Linked DNA regions of Homo sapiens: region 2 is linked to region 1. Evidence: promoter capture Hi-C in human tissues and cell types (Jung and others, 2019). All regions are on one chromosome and are shown on one strand. The core of a region is centred on a gene start or on the middle of the fragment in contact, and the rest is flanking DNA. Distances in the headings are between cores, read along the strand shown. Region 1 holds the start of AGXT (alanine--glyoxylate aminotransferase). Region 2 overlaps CROCC2 (ciliary rootlet coiled-coil, rootletin family member 2).

Evidence for each region. Contacts are between HindIII fragments. The study calls those that stand out against the background at their distance.
Region 2: a contact is called between a fragment that was not itself captured here and the fragment with the promoter of AGXT in region 1, in 4 of the 25 tissues and cell types used here (IMR-90 fibroblasts, adrenal gland, aorta and 1 more).

The regions. Positions count from the first base shown.
Region 1 is chr2:240,864,266-240,870,371 of GRCh38, reverse strand. It overlaps AGXT (alanine--glyoxylate aminotransferase), which reads right to left and starts at 1,548. Exons shown (of 11, transcript NM_000030.3): 1 at 1,342-1,548; 2 at 1,010-1,202. The coding sequence starts at 1,506. RefSeq lists an enhancer at 1,529-2,029. The HindIII fragment of the contact is 24,692 bases long and covers 1-6,106 here.
Region 2 is chr2:240,941,465-240,947,570 of GRCh38, reverse strand. CROCC2 (ciliary rootlet coiled-coil, rootletin family member 2) reads right to left here. Exons shown (of 32, transcript NM_001351305.2): 15 at 1,318-1,511. Among named protein-coding and RNA genes, the nearest start is that of UICLM, 23 kb to the left of the region's middle. The HindIII fragment of the contact is 4,549 bases long and covers 1-4,525 here.

The DNA of each region.
Region 1 (6,106 bases), core at 299-2,798:
ACTGACCAGTGCCTCCCCAAGCAGAGAGTGAGCTCCCGGGAGTCAGGGCTGCACCTGGCCCAGGGCTGGCACAAAGAGTGTACCTGGTCCAGGGCTGGCACACCACAGGTGTGATGGATGACAGACTGAAGGATGAGGGGTGAGTGAGGCAGCAGCCTTGACCTCTGTTGGAGCTGGGGACTCCAGGAATCAGGCCCTCACCCCCTCCCTGTCTCTGCCCTATCCTGTGTGCTGTTCAGGGCCAGGTTGTGGGAGGGGAAGAACCTGCGGCCAAGGGGACAGAATGGGGAAAAGGGAAGCCATATACCACAGGCATCTGAGCCTGCGTGCCCTGATGTCCACTTGGGGTCCTGGCCTCTGCCGACCCTGGGTCCCCTTGAAAAGTTTGTGGACTTGGGGTTGGGACCCTCTTGGCTGTTGCGGTCGCGTATTAACCAGCATGGCCATTGTGGAGCTCACCAAGCTGATGTCCCTCAATGCCACAATCAATCATTAAACCCAGGGCACACTCCTGCTCCTGTGTCTCTCCCAGAAAAGTGTACTCCGGAGGCGAATACTCTGCCCATACCTCCATATTTTGTGTATCACATCAAGATTCCAGAAGGAAGGCTGCTGAGATTTGAGGGGAGGCTTCAGCTTCTGAAACCCCACCCTGTCACAAAGCAGAGCTGGTGCCTGGGGCCCTGGACAGCGGCCGGGGCTCTCAGGAGTGTGTGCTGGGACCAGAGGCTTCCCTGTAGTTCCGTCCTGCACATGCTCCAGAAACAGCTCAAGGAGACTGGGGGGATCGGGGCACCTGTGCTGCTCCCAGCCCTATCAGAGTCAGGCCTCATGAGTGCCCGACACCGCCTGGAGGAGGCAGTGGGCTGGCAGGAGGTTCGTGCGCACAGGGCCACAAGGTGGGTAAGCGCTCACCCAGGAACGGGGGCTGCCAGCTTCAAACAGAGGGAGGCCAGGGAGGCCTTGAAGGATGGATCCAGGGCCATCCCCACCTGGGCCTCTCCCTTACCTATGCGCTCCCCGATGTCCACGGCTCGCTGCCCCCAAATGCCATTGGCCCCAACCAGGAAGGAGTCCCCAGGCTCCAGCACATTGACCAGGGCGGCCTCCAGGGCACAGTGTCCCGAGCCAGAGATGACCAGTGTGAGTGGGTTCCTGGTCTGGAACACGTACTGGATGCCTTCCTTGATCTCGTCCATGATCTGCATGCGGGTGGTATAGGGTGAGACCCAGGCTCCCCGCCTCCCCAAGTGAGGAGGCAGTGACCCCCTTCCCTCGTCCACGATCTGTGGGTGGGAACATGGGTGAGACCCAGGCCCCCCGAGTGACCCCCACTCCTACCTGGTACATATCCTTGCTCATGGACCCGATCATCTGCAGCCCCCCGGCTGCCATGATGCGAGGAGGCAGGTTGGAAGGACCAGGCCCCAGCAGGAGCTGGTTGGGGATGGAGAGGGGCTTGAGCAGGGCCTTGGGGGGGGTCACCAGCAGCTTGTGAGAGGCCATGGTCCGCACCCAACCTGCCGCTCGGGAACCTGGGGCTGCACTGGCCTTGGCCAAAGCCTGGAATATTTCCCAGCAGGGCGGACACAGAGGTGAGAGGTGAGGATTGGTGGATGGGCTTCCGTGGCAGCCCTGCCTTTTGTTCCCTGAGGCTTATCTGTGCTTGTGCTGCGGGTCACGGCCAGGCAGCAGGGGACGAAGCCCTCAGGCAGAGGGAGCCCCCAGGGCTGAGTGACAGAAAAACAGAGTGTGACAAAGCTGTCCTCACCCCAGCCCTCCTCGCTCCCACTCTGAGTCCTGCACGTCCAGCCCCTCTTATTCTGCTTAGCTCAGGGGTGAGAGAAGTGTTTCTTAAAGGGTCGGAGCACAGATAATTGAGGCTTGGCAGGCCCTGTGGTCTATGTTGCAACAACTCAACCCTGCTGCGTGCTTGCAAAGCAGCTGCCAGAGGTGTGGGCGTGTTCCTATAAAACTTTATTTACAAAAAGCAGGTGGCAGGCCAGATTGGGCCCATGGACTGTGGTTTGCTGACCCTGGCGCAGCTGATGGGAAGGCTTGTAAACCAAAAATAAAATTCGAAGGCCCCCCAGCAACCATCTGAATGGGGTTCCCTGTCCGCCAGGGTGCTCTAAACTTTAACCCGGAAGACGTTCAGGCCATGCCACATCATAACCCCCAGCATTAACATCGACATAGACCTTAAGTCTGATAGGAAGCATTTACCATCTATTTTCTCTCTAAATCCCGCTACCTGAAGGCATCATCTGCTCCCTGCAACCCCTATTTCATAACCCAGACACTCCTTTCTGCTGATAATAATTCTTCAGTCAGTTGCCAATCAAAATATGTTTAAATCTACCTATGACCTGGAAGCCCCCCAATTCAAGTTGTCCCGCCCTTCCAGATGGAACCAATGTAAATCTCCCATGTATTGATTGATGCCTCATATCTCCCTAAAATGTATAAAAGCAAGCTGTGCCCCGACCACCTTGGGCCCTTGTGGTCAGGGGTGCACCCTTGAGCTTGGCAAGGATGTCCTCCCTCCTGAGGCTGTACCACGGGTGCATCCTTAGCCTTGGCAACAAAAACTTTCTAAATTAATTGAGACCTGTTTGAGGTACTTTTTGGTTTACAGGCTCAATTTAGCAAGCAAACCTGCATGGTATACAGACACACACAAGGCAGGGGTTGCACAGTGAGTTTCAGCATGCTGCATTCCAGAGATGTATAGAAATTCTAGTTATGTATAAGTTTTAGGTTGAAAAGAGGCCTGGAACCAGGTGCCAACTTTAGATAATAGGGAAGTCTAATTCATTCTACATTTCTCAAATAAAGAGGCTCCCCTCCACCCACCCCACCTGGGGCCTGCTTGATGGTCTCCAGGTGATCTTTGCTGTCCTCATTTTCCCTCTGACAAATATCTTGGTGAAATCTTTGACCCTTCCTTTTCTGCCATGCTCATGTCCACCTGCTTCCTGTTGGGGTCTCAAGAAAGGGGAAACGGCACAGTGAAGAGGGGTGTCCAGTGCGCCTGACTACTTGCTGCTGAAAGGGAGTTCAGGGGGGTAGGTCACGTTTTTCCCTTTCTTGCTCTCGGTCATGAAGGGAATAAAGGGTCATGAAAACTTGTGCACGGAGGCACGTGATGGGATTCCATCAAGAAGCCCCACGTAAATGGGAGCTGCAGTTGCAGGCCGGTATTTCCATCAAGAAGCCCCATGTAAATCGAGCTGCAGTTGCAGGCCAGTGTTGGGAATGCATAGCCTTCTGCAGGTGGAATTGTTCTCATGTAGAACATAGAAAAGCAATCAGAGCATTAAAAAGGCAGGGACCAAATATTAAAAGAAAAATGACAGAAGATAAAGGTCTAAGGAATGGGGGAAGCCAAGTGATTTTTTGAAAACCAATCAGTAAAAGTTTTGGCCCAGTCTTGGTTGCTTTGGGAAAGTGTGTGTAGCCATTTGGCTTGTTTGATGATTTCTTGGGCATCGGTTTCCACTTCTCCAGACACATAAATGTAGGTGCAACGGGTCCTGTTGATGACAGCACAGACCCCTCCTTGTTCAGCTAGGAGGTAATCCAGAACTCACCTGTTACCAGACACCAAAATCCTGCTTGTGAGTCTAATGACTTGTAGAGCTGATAGATGGGTGCCAGCTTTTGCTATTTCAAGGGAGGCGGTAGGTTCTCTTACTTGTGATTTCCTGGTAAGTAAAACCTCCCCAAGGGGTAAGAGTTGTGATAGTTCCCACAACTCCGGCCACAGTAAGTCCCAGGGCCCTTTTCCTTCTAGAAGGGAATTCTGAATTAGAAGTGATGTTTAAGACAGTGATTTGGGTGGGAGCTATTGTTCCCAGGCTACAATCACCATAGTGAAGAGAATGATCAAGGTGGGATAGGGCCAAAGCTTGAAAAGGGTTTAAATAGTTTTTAGTGGGGCTGCTAAGCCATAAGAGCCCAGGAGGGGCAGGATGATTATTTTAATTAAAATGTTGGGAAAAAAGGAAATGGGCCTTTTGACAGTTTTAAGAGGACTCATATGGGGGAAAGACTATGTTTATGTACTGATGGAGGAGGTTTAAAAGCAGGCGGGTGCCAGTGCATGGCATAGGATGTAAACCAGGTGGCACGGTGGTTATTTCCTGCACTGGTTGCATCATTATAGTAACATACATGAAGGTATTAGGAGTGCAGGGGTGCTGTATACTGGGAGCCCCACTATACTGGTCCAGTTTAACGGCTTATAAATTGGCAGTGATGAGATAGAGTCAGATTTTTTTTTTTTTTTTTTTTGAGATGGAGTCTCACTCAGTTGCCCAGGCTGGAGTGAAGTGGTGTGACCTTGGCTCACTGCAACCTCTGCTCCTGGGTTCAAGCGATTCTCCTGCCTCAGCCTCCTGAGTAGCTGGGATTACAGGCACCTGCCACCACGCCCTGCTAATTTTTGTATTTTTAGTAGAGACAGGGTTTCACCATGTTGGTCAGACTGGTCTCGAACTCCTGACCTCAGGTGATCCACCCACCTCTACCTCCCAAAGTGTTAGGATTACAGGTGTGAGCCAGCGCACCTGGCCAGAGTCAGAGTTTTGATTGTAGGAGGCGAAGGCCTCAAATGAGTCAAAGTTAGCTGCATGAGTGTCATTATAACAAGGTGTACCTCCCAAAATAACATTACAAGTTAAGGAAGTTTCAGTGATATTGTAAGTGTGGATGGTGGGGGAAGTAATATGATAGCACGAAGAGGGAGGTGGTTTCCAATTTACCAGCACAGAAGGAAATGGTCGGGGTGGGAAGGAGTGGTGAGAAGAATAATGAAATCCCAACAGTACAGTTTGATTGGAGACAGGGTGTGCTTACGAAGAAGAATCTACATGGCTTGGAGTAGCAGGTTGTGGACGGCAAAGCCAGCCACACAGAGTATTTTCTCCTCTCACAATAGCATGTGAGATGCTGAAGATGATATTGTCAAACCAAGAGGATTGGGAAGTTTTTATATGAGAGATAAAGAGAAAAACATGAAAGAAAGAAAAAAGGAGTCTCATTGTTCTAATTCAAGGACTGTTACAAAAGTTGCTCCAAGTATAATTAGAAAAACCACCCTGCAAATAAAAATCTAGTGCAAGCTGAATAATTGTATGTGGGTCTTGAGAAATGGGGATTGGATAAAGAGACAGTAAATTGGCTGGGTGTGGTGGCTCATGCCTGTAATTCCAGCACTTTGGGAGGCTGAGACGGGCGGATCACCTGAGGTCAGAAGTGTGAGAACAGCCTGGCCAACATGGTGAAACCCTGTCTCTACTAAAAATACAAAAAAAAAAAAAAAAAAAAAAAAATAGCCGGGCATGGTGGTGCATGCCTGTAATCCCAGCTACTCAGGAGGTTGAGGCGGGAGAATCACTTGAACCCGGGAGATGGCGGTTGCAGTGAGCCGAGATCGCACCATTGCACTATAGCCTGGGTGACAAGAGCAAAACTCTGTCTCAAAAAAAAAAAAAAAAAAAAAGTAAGTGAATTGAGGATAATCTCAGAAAATTGGAGGACCTAAAAACGCTTCTAGAGTACATAAGGAAATGAATGACAAGGGAGGGAAAGGAAAGTGAATGATAAACACAGCAAAAGGCTTACGTGGTATCCTTTGCTTTTGAAGAGAGGTTAGTGTCACCTGGTTGTTTGCAAAACAAAAATCATAGATCTTCCAAGGGCTCAAAGTGTAAGCAGGCTGGAGTTCTGGCGGCAGTACAGACTTTATGTGGCAAAGGTGGACCCAAGGGGAGAATCCCTGCAGTTAACAGCTGTGGGAGAGGCTATGAGGACTTGAAAGGGTCCAGTCCAGAGGGCTGGAAGGGGTTTTCTGTCTGGAGGCAAAGTTTTTAAATATACCCAGTCCCCAGGTTAACAGGAGGTCTTAGTTCTGATGAGGAGGGGTCAGATTTTGGACAAAATTTATCCTGGTATTCAGTAGTGGCCTGGATAGTTTGCCCAGGGAGGCATCACATTGAGACAGATAATGAGCCTCTGGATCAAGTAATAAGTCCGTTTGTAAAAAGGGGCATCCATAAATAATTTCAAAAGGGCTAAGGTGGGTTGAAACCTTTGGGAATTA
Region 2 (6,106 bases), core at 1,002-3,501, 76 kb before region 1:
AGATAAACACACAGAGTGTGTCCGGGCAGACGTGGCTTCAGGTCAAGCCCCTCTGTCACCAGAGGCTCAATGGGCCATCAGGATGCCCTGTTCAGTGGCCTGTGATGCTGGGGCCTGCAGGGCTGCCATGTGCAGGGACCTCGGGTCAGTGGCAGGGCTGAGGTAGGGGCAGCTGTCAGGGCAGCACCCAGGCTGCTGAGGGCTCTGGCTGGGGCCTGTGTTCTGGGCAGTAGACCCTGACAGCAGGAAAGGGACCTCCACCCCGGTCCTTGGAGCCCCCAGGGCCCAGGAGGGAGCATGGGCAGGAGCCCAACCCGCAGCAGCCTCCCTCAGGTTTTCCTTGCTGTGCAAGCTTTCATTTGGAGAAGAGGTTTGTCTGTGAAGCTCGAGGATCCCAGACTCCAAGGTTTCTCATGCCTCCCAGATTCTAGAATTCCAGGAGGAAATCTTTTCAACAAAAATGCTTAGCAGTGCCTGAGCAGGGCCCTAAGCAGGGCCTATAAGGCACAGAAGCCATCAGCTGTTGGGTTTCTGCAGAGGCTGCAGGACCCATTCAGATCACCAGGCAACAGCCTACACACATCCTGTTCTTGCCTGCGAGTGCCCGTCCCAACTTCTGGGAGTTGCCCTGAGGGCCTTTGGGCTCACCCGCCCACACTCTCCACCTCATGTGTCCCTGGGCTGACCCTGCTTCTGGCTCCAGGGATGGGTGTGCAGCCCAAGCCTGGGATCAGGCCCTGTGACTCCCAGCTCCTAGGATTGGTACAGGGATGTCACACAGCTCAAGACGGCCCATGGCAGCCGCTCTCAGGCCTTGCAGGGAGAAGGGTGCTCTGCATCTGCTGGAAGGGGGACCCTGGGGTGGCTGCTGGCCATCTTGCCACCTCTCAGAGTAAGCCTGCCTGGGAAAAAGATCTCAGAGTCAAGCTGTGCTGAGGGAGAGAGAAGCAGGATTCTGAGGGCACTGTGGGAGTGCCTGAATCCAGCCATACCTGAAGTTGGATTCACCCTGAACTCCTCAGCTCCATGAGCAAGACATTCCACATCTGCCTTCCCCTGGTCTGAGCTGTGTTTCTGCACTTGCCACCACCTCTTTCAGGAGGGTGACCCCAGCGCTTTCACTGGGTTGACCTCTTCCAGATGCCCTCCCCCAACCCAAAGGCTCTGTGCTCGCCTCCACTCACAGCCCATTTCATGGGCACACGCTCCCTCCCAGTCCTATGTCATGGTGCGATTGTCCCCATACCCTGCCACACTGCAGACTCTCTGTGGGCAAGGACACGTGGGACATGCCCTGACTGGCAGGCCCTTGCATACCTGAGATCAGCTGCCTCTTCAGCTGCGAGCCGGCCCTGCCTCTCCAAGGCCTCCTGCTTGGCCAGCAGCTGGGCCCGCTCCTCAGACAGAGCATCCTTTCCTTGCAGGGCTTGCTGCAGAGTGCCCATCTGGGCCTCCTGGTCCTGCAGGCTCTGAGCCAGCTGCTCCTCCAGGGCCTGTTTCTGGCATGTGACCTAGGGGAGGTGGGGAGGGGACAGTCGGCAGAGAAAGAGAGTAAGTGGGTGGGTGAGCATGGGCCTCTTGAGGGGAAGAAAGGACTTCAGAAGAAGTGATTTTATGCAGAATGGCATGGAGGTGAAAGTGGAAGAAGTGGGTGGATCTCAGAAACACATGTATGTTTTTACAATAGAGGGGGCATCCACTCAGGTACCCTGAGTGGATGGAGATGGTATTGAACTGGGCACTCCTAGGTAGGAGCCAACTGTCAATCTAAATGGTACCATTTGTTGGTCCTCCAGTGTCCAGGGGTCAGGAAATGCTGCATAGAAATGGCAATAGAAGGTAACAGAAAACTAGATTGCTGCAGACCAACACTTCCACCAAGAACATCATAAAAATCTAGAAAGAATATATCATAAGAATATGCAAGACACCTCAGACAGCTGAACAGACAGCTGGGACCGAAGGAGTGAAGATCTTGGAGAGAAGGGAGGTACAGAGGAATGAGCCCAGCATTTAATGTCTCCTCTTCCTCAAGGCATTTGCTCATTTAAGAGTTTGGGCTGAAAAATTGAGATGCCAAGAAGAACTTCTGGCAGTACCATGGCCTGAGGGGGACAAAAGTTAGGGTTCAGAGCCACCAAAACAGAGAGGCTCTGATAAATATCACAAGACATCAAGTTGTATTCACAGCAGGGCTTGACCCTAGTACTAGCGGTGAATCAGAAATAGACCATCCTTCATAGACACCGAAGCTCACGTGCGAATCATCCCAGTCACGGATTGGATTACAGTGACCTTCTACGTTCACTGCCTGCCAGGGTCAAAAGTAAATTCTGGCCAGCTGAGGCGGCTCACGCCTATAATCCCAGCACTTTGGGAAGCCAAGGCAGGCAGATCACTTGAGGTCAGGAGTTCAAGACCAGCCTGGCAACATGGTGAAACCCCGTCTCTACTAAAAATACAAAAATTAGCCAGGCACGATGGCACACACCTGTAATCCCAGCTATTCAGGAGGCCGAGGCAGGAGAATCGCTTGAACCCAGGAGGCAGAGGTTATGGTGAGCCAAGATCATGCCACTGCACTCCAGCCTGGGTGACAGAGTGAGACCCTCTCTCAAAAACAAACAAACAAACAACAACAAGAACAAAAATAAATGCTTTCTGGAAGAAGAATCGCATCATCAAGATCCTCAAATTATTTCTATAATTTATTATATATAAGATTGACTAATCAAGATCTGGCCTATCAGGAGACAGGACCACATGACAAAAAAACCACTAATAAGAACAGAAAATAGATATAGATCCTCCTACCCTGGTTATCTAGATATTGGAGTTATCAGACACAAACTTTAAAATAGCTGATTCACGTGTTCAAGAAGATGGATAGCAAGACGTAAAGTTTAACAATAGAACTGGATACTAAATATAAAAAAGACAATTTAAAATATAATAACCAAAAGTAAAAAAAAAATTAATAGACAATGGCAGATTAGACAGAATAAAAGAAAGGACTAATAACCTGGAAGAGAGACAAAGAATGTGTTCAGACTGAATCATAAAGAGATAGAAGGATGGATAGAAAATACACAAAAGAATGTTATAGACATATAGGACAAGCTAAAAATGCCCATCATATGTGTAATTACAGCCTCAAAAGGAGATGAGAGGGCACATTTGAACAGATACAGGCCAAGAATGTTCCAAATCTAATAAAATACATCTAGCCACAGACTTAAAATGAGCTGTAACCCCCAAAAGGATAAATTAAAAGAAAATGTCACATATATACAACTTAGTAAAGTTTCTGAATACCAAAGATAAAGAAAAATGTTTTTTAAAAAACAAAGGGAAAAAGACACATAGGCGTGAAATGAACAAGACTGACATTTGCTTTCTATGCAACAATGAAGGCCAGAAGATGATGGAATGACTTCATTAAATTTCTGAAAGAAAATAATGGCTATTTTAGTATTCTATACCCAGCGAAAACATTCTTCAAAAGTAAAAACCAGGACTTTCTGCTTCTGATAATGGTGAGGTGGGTTGTTGAAAACCAACCCTCCCATCTAAAGCAACTAGAAAAGCAATACAACGTACAATCCAATAATCTGTTTAAAAGCATTAGAGAGATACTAACGCAGTCAGGTCCCAGGTGTTCAGGCTACAGAGAGAAATATATTAAAGTGAGTCTGAAATTCTATGAATACAACAGATTTCCCCTTTGAGGTATCTGCCAAGTCCTAAGTGACAGGGGGTGTAGAGCCTCAGTATCCAAGAATAAAGCTTTAGGCCGGGCTTGGTGGCTAATGCCTGTAATCCCAGCACTTAGGGAGGCCGAGGTGGGCAGATCACCTGAGCTCGGGAGTTCGAGACCAACCTGGCCAACATGGCGAAACCCCATCTCTACTAAAAATACAAAAATTAGCCGGGCATATGCCTGTAATCCCAGCTACTCAGGAGGCTGAGGCAGGAGAATTGCTTGAACCCAGGAGGCGGAGGTTGCAGTGAGCCGAGATCACCCCATTGCACTCCATCCTGGGCGACAGAGCAAGACTCTGCTTAAAAATTAAAAAAAAAAAAAAAAAGCTTTAGCTAAAAGACTGGGAACATGGCCTAAGATTTCAGCAGGCTTATGAGATTGAAGAGATATAACTTAGAGTTCAGATATACCAAAGCAGCCGGGGAACGAAAAGAAGAGCGGATATCAGAGAGCAAGGAAATGCCTTGAGGTAAGCCTGAGATTGTATATTGCGATTTTAAAAAATGGTACTGCTGGCTGAGCGCAAAATCCCAGCACTTTGGGAGGCTGAGGCAGGTGGATCACTTGAACCCAGGAGTTTGAGACCAGCCTGGGCAACATGGCAAAACCCCATTTCTACAAAAAACACAAAAATTAGCTGGGCGTGGTCATGTGTGCCTGTAGTCCCAGCTACTCGGGAGGCTGATGTGGGAGGATCACTTGAGCCCAGAAGGTCGAGGCTGCAGTGAACCATGGTCATGCCACTGCACTCCAGCCTGGGCAACAAAGACCCTGTCTCAGAAAATAAAATAAATGGTACTGCTTTGAAAAAGTATGTATTTTTTATAATTCAGAAGTAGTAAAGGACCAGGAGACTACGAATCTGAACAAAAAAATAGCAGCTGACAGTCTGAGAAGTCAGATAGTACTTTTGAAAGTCCTATCTGAAATAAAGATAATAAAAAAAAGACAATAAATAAAAAGAAAATAAAACCTGGAGTTTAGGGCTAACTAAAGAGTAGGAACCCTGGTAAACACCTGAGATTTCCCATTAGGAACATAGGAGAGTTATATTATACCCTGGGATAAGCCAGAAATAGACGACTCCTCACAAAAGACTGAAGTACAGTTACAAAGCAGCTAAATCCTGGACTGGATAAAGGCAATTTATCCCTATTCTGATTTCCCAAAGTCAAAAGCAAATTCCCTCTAGAAGAAGCTTATATCATTCAAAGCCTTAAATTATCTCTATGAATTATATCTACAAAAACACAAAGTCTGTCATTCAATCAAAAATTATTAAGCATAATAAAAAAACAAACAATATTAAGCATACTAGGAGACAAGGCCAAACTACTGAAAATAAATAAATAAAAGACAATAGAAATAGCTCATTAGGGGATCCAGATGTTAGAGTTATCAGACAAAGACCCAAAAAGTATTGTAATTAATATGTTTAAAAACATACTCAAGAAGGAAAAGAATGTTACCAAATAACTGAAATGTTTGTGAAAAGATGATTGAGTGTGTGTGTGTGAATGGTTAAAAATAATCATTTAAAAGTAAAAAGTATTAATAAAGTAATGTACGGTTTATAACAACACACACAGAAATAAAATATAGAACAACAAGAGCAAAAAGTATGGAAGAGATGTCTTAGTAAATTTGTGCTGCTATAACAAAGTACCTGAGACTGGGTAATTTATAAAGAACAGAAATTTATTAATTTATCTTCTCACAGTTCTAGAGACTGGGAAGTCCAAAATCAAGGTGCTGGCAGGTTCAGCTGTCTATCAAGGACTACTCTCTGCTTCCAAGGCTGTGCCTTGATGCTGCATTTTCCGGATGAGAAGAATGCTGCACCTTCACATGGTGGAAGGCATAAGGGAAAGTGAGACACAAATGATGCTGCAAGCCCCTTTCATAAAGGCTTTAATCTCGCTGATGAGGGTGGAACCCTTATGGCCTAAATCACCTCTTAAAGGTCCCATCTCTTAATACTATCACAATTAGTAAGTTTCAACACCTACATTTTGGAGGGGACACATTCGAAACATAGCAAGGGATGAATGGAATGTATTGCTGGAAGGGTCTTACATTGTTTGTGAAGTAATATAATATTTGGATATAGACTGTGCATATCATAATTTTAGGGTAATCACTAAAACTAACAAAAAGAAACACAGTTTCATTCTTCTACATGTGGCTTGACAATTATCCCAGCACCATTTCTTGAATAGAGTGTCCTTTCTTTACTTTATGTTTTTGATTGTTTTGTCGAACATCAGTTGACTGTAAGTATTTGGGTTTATTTCTGGGTTCTCTATTCTGTTTCATTGGTCTATGTGCCTATTTTTATACCAG